Linked DNA regions of Homo sapiens: region 2 is linked to region 1. Evidence: promoter capture Hi-C in 16 types of primary human blood cells and fetal thymus (Javierre and others, 2016). All regions are on one chromosome and are shown on one strand. Each heading gives the region's core, a stretch centred on a gene start or on the middle of the fragment in contact. The rest is flanking DNA. Distances are from core to core; before and after follow the strand shown. Region 1 holds the start of NECTIN3-AS1 (NECTIN3 antisense RNA 1). Region 2 overlaps PLCXD2 (phosphatidylinositol specific phospholipase C X domain containing 2).

Region 1 (5,427 bases), core at 1,151-3,650:
GTATTTATAGGAGAAAGGAGGTTTTGCTATTGATATGGTTTGGCTGTGTACCCACCCAAATCTCATCTTTAATTGTAGCTCCCACAATTCCCACGTGTTGTGGAAGGGACCTAGTGGAAGGTGATCGAATCATGGGGGCAGGTCTTTCCTGTGCTGTTCTCCTGATAGTGAATAAGTCTCATGAGATCTGATGGTTTTATAAAGGGGAGTTTTCCTGGACATGTTCTCTTGCCTGCCACCACTTTGCTCCTCCTTGCCTTCTTCCATGATTAAGGCCTCCCAAGCCATGTGGAACTGTGAGTCAATTAAACCTCTTTCCTTTATAAATTACACAATCTCAAGTATGTCGTTATTAGCAGCATGAGAACAGACTAACACAGCCATGTTGCCAGGCTCGTCTTGAACTCCTGGACCCAAGCAATCTGCCAGCCTTGGCCTCCCAAAGTGGTGGGATTTCAGGCAGGAGGCACTGTGCCTGGCCTACTTGAGTTTTAACAGTGAAAATATAGATACTTGCTTGCCCTTGTGGACTGTTCATTCTAGTGAAAGGGAACAGACAGTAAATTAGAGACATGTCAGATGGTAAGGGCAATGGAGAAAATAAAGCAAGTTAAGGGCATAGGGATTAGGGTGGGGGAAGCTCTTTCATATGATGTGGTCCTGGAGAGCCTCAATGATAAAGTTAAATTTTATCAAAGATTCAAAGGAAATAGGAGGGAGAAAGTCATATGAGCATACAGGGAAGATCTGTTCAGTAAGAAAGACTTGCATTTAATAAGAGTAAGGTTGGTGAACGTTTTGCAAGTGGATGGACTTTTCTGCGATTTTGCAGTTTGTTTTTTATTATTTGCATAATTCTCTTTACAAAAACTGTGATCCTAACTGGATAACATAAGCTTATTATCAAATATAGTACAAAGTTCAAATATTCTACAAAATATCATTCATCTCTTTTACTAAAGGAAAAGCTATGCGTCCTCACACAGCAGGTTATAGAATTTGCTGATGTTAAGAAGAATTAGCTGAAGTATATAATGTCTTACCTCTCCTGTAAAATACCTCCTTTGTTTCAGAGTCAGCTATGAAATTCTAATAATAGTCTCAAACTTTTCACTTGGATTATTTGAGTAAATGTAAAATGCCCAGCACTGTACATAATTACTTCTTTGTTAAGATGTCAACCTTTGTTTTTTAGTTAAGAGTTAATGAACCTTGATAATTGGCAAACAATCTTTGAGCCGAAAGTAGGATGGACACCATCAGTACTCTTAACCCAAAACAATGAAACTATTGTTGGCATTAGGATTACATTGCTTTCTGTTCAGATAATTTTTTTCTGAAAAAATGCATGTATACTTTGTTATTCAATGGTGTCAGAAATATTAATAAGTTAGCTATAATTAAGTATTCCTTAAACAGTTTGTTATTCAAACAATAAATGTGAACTTATGTATAAAGTTAGAAGACTAAAAATGGCATAGAACGCACTAATACTCTCATGCTAAAGGTTTTAAAAAAATTAATAGTATTTCTGCCCTTGAAAAACATGAGTTGTATATGTAATGTAAAATCTTTTTCTGTGGCCAGTAAAAATTTCCAACAGGAAAGCTTGGGGTGAGTATGTCTAAAATTCACTCATCTGAGGAGAATGTAATTTAAGATTGGGCACTTTTATTATAGAAAGTAGAAATTTGAGTTATCTTACTTTTTAACTTAAAGAATCATCTTGAGAGATCAATGGTGTCCACTGGAAGGCAAGAACTTGGTTCTGGCAGGAAAACCACCACTGGCTGGTAGTATTTGCAGAGCACTTAACCTCTGTGCCTAGGTTCTTGTAGCTGTCAAGTAGATAATAGTAATTGCTACCTTCCGTGGGAAGTGAGCTTGTGCTTTGACATCTTTAGTTGAAGATGCTGTATAAACACAAATTATTATTATTAGAATATAATACATATATGCACATAAAACACCAGCATGGTGCTCTTTTAATGCTTATATAACATCTATAAATAATGCTCTTCCATGCTCTCTCTTCACTTTAGGTCAGAGAATATCATAGCAGACCACTATTCAATTTCTGTAAGTATGGAGGAAATATATTTGTTAAAGCTCCATGTCATCTTTTTGAGACGAACTTAACCTGCTAATTCCTTATGGTCTCTGTAGCAATTGCCCGATGGCCCCTACCCAAGTTAAGCCTTTGGTATTTTTTGAAATGTTGGCTAAATTACTTTTCTTGGAGATGTGGAGCCATCAGGGAAAACCTGGAAGAATGAAATTGGCTAGTGATATTAAAATTTTGGTTGTTTAACATTTAACTGAGTCTCAACAACGTGTTAAAGTGCTATCTAAACAGATAATTAGCTAGTGGCTGCGCAGTGAGCTGTCTAAATTTAGCAGTGAAATTAGGTTTAGGGAATGCGAATATAGAAAAAGAAATTTTCTCAAGGGAAACGGTGGTGTCAGCACAGCTGAGGAATGTCACAATAGCTACATTTTGTCAATTATGATCATCATCAGGGGATCTCCCGGAGCGATGCAGGACAAGGTTTATTCATAAGTGCATCTTGAGAATAGGTGATAGAAAGCCTTGGCTGCAGGAGACAAGCTTACAGGGGACGACAGAGGCAGACAGGCACAGGGAGGGAGGGAAGAGGAAAGGGCTGGAGGGAAAAAGGCACTAGACCGAGCGCTGGGAGACTGGAAGGGAGGCAGAAGTTAAGAAAGAAAAAAGAGGTGGGCAGGGTGTAGAATGGCTTGTAGCCTTGGAGGTTAGTAAAGCCTTGTAATCCAGCGGGCGGAAGGTGGGAAGACCCTATTGACTGAAAGCCGAGGACAGCGTGGTCTTGGCCGCAAGCATGCATTAGTTTAGCTGCGACAGGCTAACTTCTGGGCGGCTGATCCTTGTTCAGCTTTCCTGTTACTGGAACACATTTATGGCTATCTCGTGGAGATGACAGGACCTACATAAAATTAATAGTGTCAGGCCTGAGGACTGGTGTCCTCTGCCTTCAATTCACCCCCTACGCTGGACAGTCCAAATTGTCCACCCTCCTACTCCCCCCGCGGAACCAATGTGGCAGTGGCTCCAAGGTCAAGCTGCCGGTACTGTGCGAGGCGGGAGGATGGAGAGGGCAGGGCGGAGAGCCACCTGGGATGAGCGAGGGTCATGGTGGACCACAGACGCTCTTCTTATACGGGCAAATGTTTAATACTTCCCGAGGTCGCCTCTCTGCCATCAAACGAAAACAGGCAAGAAAATAAAACTACACATACGAACATGCAAAGGAAACAAAACCAAAGAAAAACACCAACGCACTCGTTGGGGGAAATCCATGGCCTCCTGTTGCCAGTCGCCCGGCGCGGAAAGTGGACAGCCCAGCGGCCAGTGAGAAGCAAGAGCAAGAAAGCAAACCTTCTGAAGACCCCTCTCCTCGCCCAGCTCCGCCGACCATTCTACCAAGCTGCCCTCCCAGAAAAAAGAGCAGGAAAAATGCCTGTGCAAACGTGCCTTGGCGAGCGGGGAATAAGTGGGCTGGGAAGAAGGGAAGGATTCGGAGAGCACAGCTGTCCCGGGGAACAGGAAGGAGGAGAAAGTCTCTCCCTCCCTTCAGTGCCCCGCGCCCCAGCGAGGAGGAAGATTACTAGTCCAGCAGGCTGCGTCCAGCTTCCTACACAGGAACCTTTAGCATGGGCAACGGAAGGGCAGCCCCCTCCTGCCTTCCCCTCCCCACCCCACCCCCTCGTCCCAGGTCCCCGCCACAGGGAGAGCGCCGCCCGGGAGAGGAGAAGGCCGAGCGTGATTGTCCCGCAGCCCTCGCCTCAGTCGGCGCCGGGGCCCCCGTGGACCCGCGAGGGGTGGAGTGGGCGAGACCATTGGAAAGGCAGGGAAGGGGGGAAACCAGGCAGGAACGAGGGGCGGGGCCGACTAACCTATTCCAGATTTTCCTGTCCCTTTTAAATCTCTGCTGTGGGAGAAACCCCGTTATCAAAGTGGATGAAAAGAATATTTTTTTTTGAAAGGGGAGGAGCATGTGTAGGAGGGCGGGGTGGGAGGAGACAGGGCTTGCGCCCGGGGATCAGACGGGAGGTGGAGTTGCGCGGGGAGGGCGGGCGAGTCGGGCGCCCGCTCTGAGAGTCGGTTTCTTTTCCCCCTCTTGCGTGGGGCGGGGTGGTGCGTTCCGAGTTCCCAGGAGTTCGACGCGGGCGGGTGCCGAGGGGAGGGGAGTGGCGGCGGCGGCGGGCGGCTCCCGCTTCAGCCTCGGCAGTGGCGTCGGCGACGGCGGTGTCGAGGCAGCCGCCAGCGTTCGGCCAAGTGTCAGCCGGCAGCGACGGCGCTAGAGCTGGGAGCTGGGGACGCGCGCGCCGGACCTTCCACAGCCTCCGCCCAGAGCCTGAGGCGCCGGGGCCGGGGGAGCCGGGGGGCGGGCGGGCGAGCGGGCCGGGGGGAGGGTGGGGGATGGCGCGGACCCTGCGGCCGTCCCCGCTGTGTCCTGGAGGCGGCAAAGCACAACTTTCCTCCGCTTCTCTCCTCGGAGCCGGGCTCCTGCTGCAGCCCCCGACGCCACCTCCGCTGCTGCTGCTGCTCTTCCCGCTGCTGCTCTTCTCCAGGCTCTGTGGTAGGTGAACCTCGGCGGCCGGCGTGGGCTGAGGGAGCCGCCACTGAGGGTGCGGGCGCCGCGGCCGGCTCTGCCAGCCGTTCTCTGGAGCAGCGAGGCGGTTGGTTGTGCGAGCGAGTGCCGAGGACTTTGGCTGGAAACTTTTCGCCGCGCCCGGGGCGAGGCCCTGGAAGGGCCAGGCCAGCGAATGCTGAGCCGGCGGCCCGCTGCCCTCCCCCGCGGCCGCGCGGGTCGCCGTGCGGATGGCCGAGGGTTGGCGATGGTGCTTCGTGCGCCGAACTCCGGGTTTGCTCCGGGGACCGTTACTTCCTCGCTCATTCTCTGGGAACCCTCGTAGGTTAAGGTGCCGGGATGCACGTTTGCCGCTTTTTTTCCCGGTGAAACTTGAGCTGTGAGCCCAGAAACCCTAGGGACCGGAGCCCGATGGAATGAAGCCTCCGGGTCCACTTCTCATGGCCTTCCACCCTGGAGAAGGCACCATTTTAGCCCACCCAGCCGCAGAATCCCCTACAGCTAGTTTTCTTCTGTCTTGTGCCCACTCCCCCGGCTCTGCCCTGACAGCTTCTGGAGCTCTCTAGATTGACCCTCGTCCCTGCCCTCCAGCTTGTGGGACGTCTCTCACACTGCCCGTGCTTATTTTACCAAACCGCAGGAACAAGATTTACGTGTTAAATACCTGATTTCATGGACTGTGTGCCCCGGCTGTTCTAACCAAAACAGTCACGCGCCTGTTTCCCATCTCTTGACCCTCGTGTTATGTTACTGTTTTCCTGTCATATTTGGGAGTTAGTCTCTGAGTTTTCTTCCC
Region 2 (5,427 bases), core at 1,047-3,546, 620 kb after region 1:
GTTTGGAGATATAAGCGTGAAGTTGACATGTTCCTGCCCTGAAAGACTTTCACTTAGGTGGCAGAGACAGATGTGGAGATAAATAGCACTCAATGTCCTAAGTTCATCAAATATCAACTCACTGCCATGGAATCACAGAGGAAAGAACAGGTCAGTCTCCTTGGTAGAGTCAGGTGAGCTCACAGACTAATGATGGTAATTAAAATGGAAAGGCAAGGGACAATAAGATTGTCCCCAAGGACTCTAAGGGTTTTTTGTTTTCTTAGACAAGTCTTTTGCTATATTCAATGACCATAAGGCGTACTTATATGTATTAATAACTTTGTAAATTAATATATTCTTAACTCAGGCCTCAAATATTTTAACATGCACAATTATTATCTGTTCATATTAAATTTATTGTAATATTTGTATGGATTAAATACCTGAATTGGAATACAAGATGTTTTTCTATGAAAGCCACCCTAAATATCTTCAGCATTTAAGAACACATGTTCATCCCTCTGTTCTTTATGGGTTTTTTCTTTCTTTCTTTCTTTTTTTTTTTTTTGTTTTTGAGACAGGGTCTTGCTCTGTCACCCAAGCTGGAGTACAGTGACGTGACCATGGCTCACTGAAGCCTCAACCTCCTGGCTCAAGCAGTTCTCCATCTCAGCCTCCTGAGTAGATGAGACTACAGGCACATGCCATCACACCTGGCTAATTTTTTTTTATTTCTAGTAGAGACCAGGTCAGGCTGGTCTCAAACTCCTGAGCTCAAGCGATCCTCTCGCAATGACCTCCCAAAGTGCTGGGATTACAGGCATGAGCCACTGTGCCCAGCCTTTTCTTATATCTTTTATCCTCTCTCTCTCTTTGTTATTCACACAGGAGGCACTATGAAAAAGTAGTTCAGAGTGTAGGTTGTAGGCTCAAATCCTCGCTACTATTAATAGTTGCATGACCTTGAGTAAAAAGCTTTACCCCTCTGTCTGTTAGTTTTTTCATCTGTAAAATTGAGATAATTATAATATCCACTTCAAAAGTGCAAAGTTAGAGGAAGCACAAGCTGGAAGACTACCCTCACTCTGATACCAGTTACAGGTTTGGGAGCCTTAAGATCACCCTTGTTTGATAATTTGCTAGGAAGATTGACAGAACTCATTGAAAGTTGTTATACTCATAGTTACTGTTTATTGCTCTGAAAGGCTGCAGATCAAAATCAGCTAAAGGAAGAGGTGCATGGAGCAAAGTTCAGGAAATTTCCAAATGTGGAGCTTCCAGTTGTCCTCTTCTCATGGACAGTGTTTCTTTCCTCGTATTGATGTGTGACAGTACCACACAAAGTACTGCTAACCAGGGAAGCTCACCTGAGCTTTGGTGTCCAGAATCTTTTCTGGTCTTCCACATGGCTGACCTAAGTATCCAGCCCCTTCAGAGGTTAAGCCCATGCCCATGTGACTCAAATCCTGCACCATAAATCACATCCTTATACTTTCCCTTATGGCCCAAAGCTGTCAGGTAAATAAAGATACTTTGATCAGGCAGGACATTCCAAGGGCTTAAGCAATTGCCTCCCAAGGACTGAGGGCGAAGACCATACCTCCTTTTGGGTAAGGTTTAAATTTTTTACTACACAACAAAGTTACTTAAGAATTAAATTTCAAAAAAGAATTAAACAAGATAAATGTAAATTAACTTTAAAAAAAGAATTAAATAAGATATACAATGTGATTAGAATATTGCCAATTATGAAATAAATATGTTATATATATATATAGCTATTATTATTAAACATCCTTTTGATTACTTAATATATACCTAATATCATAATAGCTACTGTGGGACATTTTTAAAAAATGAACAAGATGTAGTTTGTAGATCTTATAAGAGATATACAAGAGTTCAAATAAAGTAAATAAAAGCAGAATGAGGTGAGTACCATGATAAAGAAACAAGCAAACTGTGCTGGGACCTGGAAAGGGAAAGGTTACTTCTAGTTGGTGGGTAAGGAACTGCTTCAGGAGAAGAGCACCTGTGAGCTGGACTGTGAGAGACAGGGAGGATTTCAACATGAAGAGGGAAGGACATTCCAGAGACAGGGAAGCAAATGCCCAAAATTAGAGATGAGAAAACAAGGGCACCTTCAGGAAACAGAGAAGGGCTGCCATGGTCACCTGTAGAAGTGACAGGAGAAGGAAATGGGAAAGTTACGGAAAGACAGACAAGCCAGTTGGAGAGAGATTTTCAGCACTGTGCTAAGCACTTTATGCTTTGTGTTGTAGACCATAGGGAGCCAGTGACAATTTTGGGCTTGAAGAAAACTGTGAAAGAAAGTGTTCTATCCCTGTTATAATTCCAGTCTTTGAACACCCTCCCTTCCAATAACCCACCTTCGCTTTGCCTCGCCAATTACAGTTCAGTTCAGGTATGACCTCTGTGCACATTTCCATTATAGGACATGATATACCCCATTGGGACTGTTTCTCTCTGCTGTATACAACTGTTTTGTCATTTCTGTATACTTGCTGTCTTGTTCAGAATAAGCACCTTATGATAAAAGTGGAGGGAAAGAAGAAGGAGGGGAAAGATGGAATCTTGAAATATATCTACAAAGAATTTAAGCATAAAAAACAGATATTTAAAAATCTATATTTCTAGTTAAGGAGAAACTAGGACAGGCAGGAAGCAAGTAGTAACGCCTAAGGTAAGACAAAATCTTATAACTGCATTGCAGTCTTCTCAAGATGCCTCAAGGCTTTAAGAGTAAGAACAAGTATAATAATAATAAAAGAAGCAGAAGAAAGATAGCTTGCTCATTTAATATTTATATAGCACTTCCTAGGGGACCGATATTGCTGTTTGATTTATATAAAGCCAATTAATTATTATAATAAATTAATGATGTAGATACTCCTACTATCCCCATTTTACAGATGAAGAAATTCAGTCACAGAGAGGTTAAGCAGATGGCCCCCCAAAATCCTGATAACAATACTAGAATTGTAAAAATTAGGTCATGCCAAATTCATTTAATTGCATTTGAATAAAAGTCATTGATAGAGTTGGAGATTGACCCAGTGTTGGGTTGTAACTTTAGTTTCTTTTGTTGGTTGTAATAAAGGGTAATTTTCTTTTCATCTGAGGCCATTTGCTCCCATGTCGGGACTCTAATGCATGAGCACCCATGAGGATGGTGATGTTTGAAGGACTACATGCTGACCTGTTCTGGCTGAACAAGTTACATTTTTTTTTTCAAGACCAGACATCTAGGAGGCTTTTTATTGACTCAGAACAAAAGCAGCCCAGTGGTTTAAGTGGTCTATGTAGTAATCACCCAGCAAGGCTCCGGCACAGAAAAAAATCTATCTGGCCTCTATTCTGCCTCTACACAGAAAGACCAGCATGAGGCTTTAGCAGGTGTGTAAGCTCTCAGAACACTGGTCTTCAAGGGTGGGGTGTGTTTTCATTCACTTTCCCCGTTGGGTGTAATGTACAAATTCCCTTTAAGCCCACCATTTCATGTAATTTAAACTGCTACTTACTGGATTTTCTCTCCTCCCTTTTCCCTTTCCTCTGTCAGAACACCTAGCTTAGGCCTTTATTTACAGGAAAGAGAAAAAAACCTCTTCTTATCCTGGAGGGGAACTAGCTAAGAAGCTTCTCTGTATCTCATTCTCCAATTTATCAAATGAATCTTAAAATAACTCTGCCCTGTGAAAAATTCCAGCCAAACTAGGTAACTTTAAATATGTTTTTTCAAAGTCCCAATGATAAATTCCATTAAAATGACCCACAAAATAATGAAACAACAGCCTTTAAAGTGAAGGGCACTGTCACATAAATGCTAAACAATAAGTGAACTATTAGCCAATGCATTTAATCACTGTAGGACACACCTAAGACCCAACAGGAATATGGGTCCTAGGAATCTGTGTGAGCAGAAAGAAGGTCTCCAGCAATTTGACGAAATTCTCAGCCAAAAAGCAATAAATACCACTTTAGGCTTGGAATGATTTGCTTTTTGCAAATATGATGAGTTAAATTTACAGGCATATTTTCTGTTTAAGTATGGTAAGTGTGAAAGAAAAATGTTATTTCTTTGCAATGATGAATAGTCCTTCATAAATATGGTCACAAATGCCTTTAGTAAGCTGTTAATAAGTGGAATTATCCAATTCTTAAGATAGAAGAGACCCTAAGTCGCATTTCACTCACTTTCCTAAGTTTGCAAATGAAGAAACAGAATTCCAAGTACAAGTTTGGAAGCCCAGGTTCACAGAAGTAATCACAGCAGAACCAGCACTGGGATTCAGGCTCAGCTGTGGAATTACAGACTGTTTCTTCAACTGAGAGAAGGTTAGAGTGCCCTCCTGTGTCCCTATGTAGAAATTCTTTAGGTCTTTACAAAATTTAAAATAGCTTTAATCTCTTCATCAATTTTCCTGCACTGGCAGGGACCAGGCATTTAGGTCCAAAGACAAACTCTGCAATCACCATGTTATTGAAAGTAAATGAACAATGCACTTGACTTGTTTAATCAATAAGGACATAGAACCAATACTATCATCCCCAGAGTATCTTTGTGTGCACTGAGGTCTGACAGACCTGGGTCTATGTCCCGGGCAGCCACATGCAATCTTTGCAACCCTGAACTAGTTGCAAAACCAGTCTGAGCCTCAGTTTCCTCATCTGTAAAATGCAGGTAATCACTGCCCTGCAGGATTGTAGCACAGGTCAAATGAGATCATGTAAGTAAAATGCCCAGCCTGGCATTAGGTACATAATAAGCACTCAATAGATTGAAGTTGTTTCAGTTATTTTCAGGCAAGAGCCCCCACCAGGGTTATAAAAAAGTTAATGTTAAAAGAGCTGAGGTAAAAACACTGGGGAGATAAACTGAATGTCTTCAGGTTCCTTTTTTATTTTTTTGAGACGGAGTCTGGCTCTGTCGCCCATGCTGGAGTGCAGTGGCGCGATCTCGGCTCACTGCAAGCTCCGCCTCCCGGGTTCATGCCGTTCTCCAGCTTCAGCCGCCCGAGTAGCTGGGACTGCAGGCACCCACCACCACGCCCGGCTAATTTCTTTTTGTATTTTTGTAGAGACGGGGTTTCACCGTGTTAGCCAGGATGGTCTCGATCTCCTGACCTTGTGATCCGCCCGCCTCGGCCTCCCAAAGTGCTGGGATTACAGGCGTGAGCCACCGCCCGGCCAGGATGCTTTTAGTTATTAGGTGAAAAGGTTTCCATGAGTTCCAGGGGCAGAGGAAAGGGGGAGAGAATTTTTAAAGAGATATGTACTGAATATGTGATTCCTGAAAAATGAATTTCTTCTTCAGATGGGGAAATTTAAATGAACCTAAGCCACATGGCTTGACCACAGATAGAAGCTCTCTCTCAAAGGTAACACCTGGCAGTAAGGGTCCAGCAATATTTTTTTAAAAGCCTC

The links. Contacts are between HindIII fragments. The CHiCAGO score rates a contact against its expected background, and 5 or more counts as called.
Region 2: a contact is called between a fragment that was not itself captured here and the fragment with the promoter of NECTIN3-AS1 in region 1, in 1 of 17 cell types (fetal thymus). The highest score is 5.7, in fetal thymus.

Annotation. Positions count from the first base shown.
Region 1 is chr3:111,067,559-111,072,985 of GRCh38, forward strand. NECTIN3-AS1 (NECTIN3 antisense RNA 1) reads right to left here and starts at 2,401. Exons shown (of 4, transcript NR_045114.1): 1 at 2,232-2,401; 2 at 1,706-1,913. It overlaps LOC151760 (putative uncharacterized protein LOC151760), which reads right to left and starts at 4,208. Exons shown (of 4, transcript XR_007096272.1): 1 at 3,934-4,208; 2 at 1,706-1,913. NECTIN3 (nectin cell adhesion molecule 3) reads left to right here and starts at 4,258. Exons shown (of 6, transcript NM_015480.3): 1 at 4,258-4,619. The coding sequence starts at 4,460. RefSeq lists a silencer at 3,986-4,085. The HindIII fragment of the contact is 1,000 bases long and covers 1,607-2,606 here.
Region 2 is chr3:111,687,149-111,692,575 of GRCh38, forward strand. All of the region lies in intron 1 of PLCXD2 (phosphatidylinositol specific phospholipase C X domain containing 2), which reads left to right. Among named protein-coding and RNA genes, the nearest start is that of PLCXD2-AS1, 12 kb to the left of the region's middle. The HindIII fragment of the contact is 2,682 bases long and covers 956-3,637 here.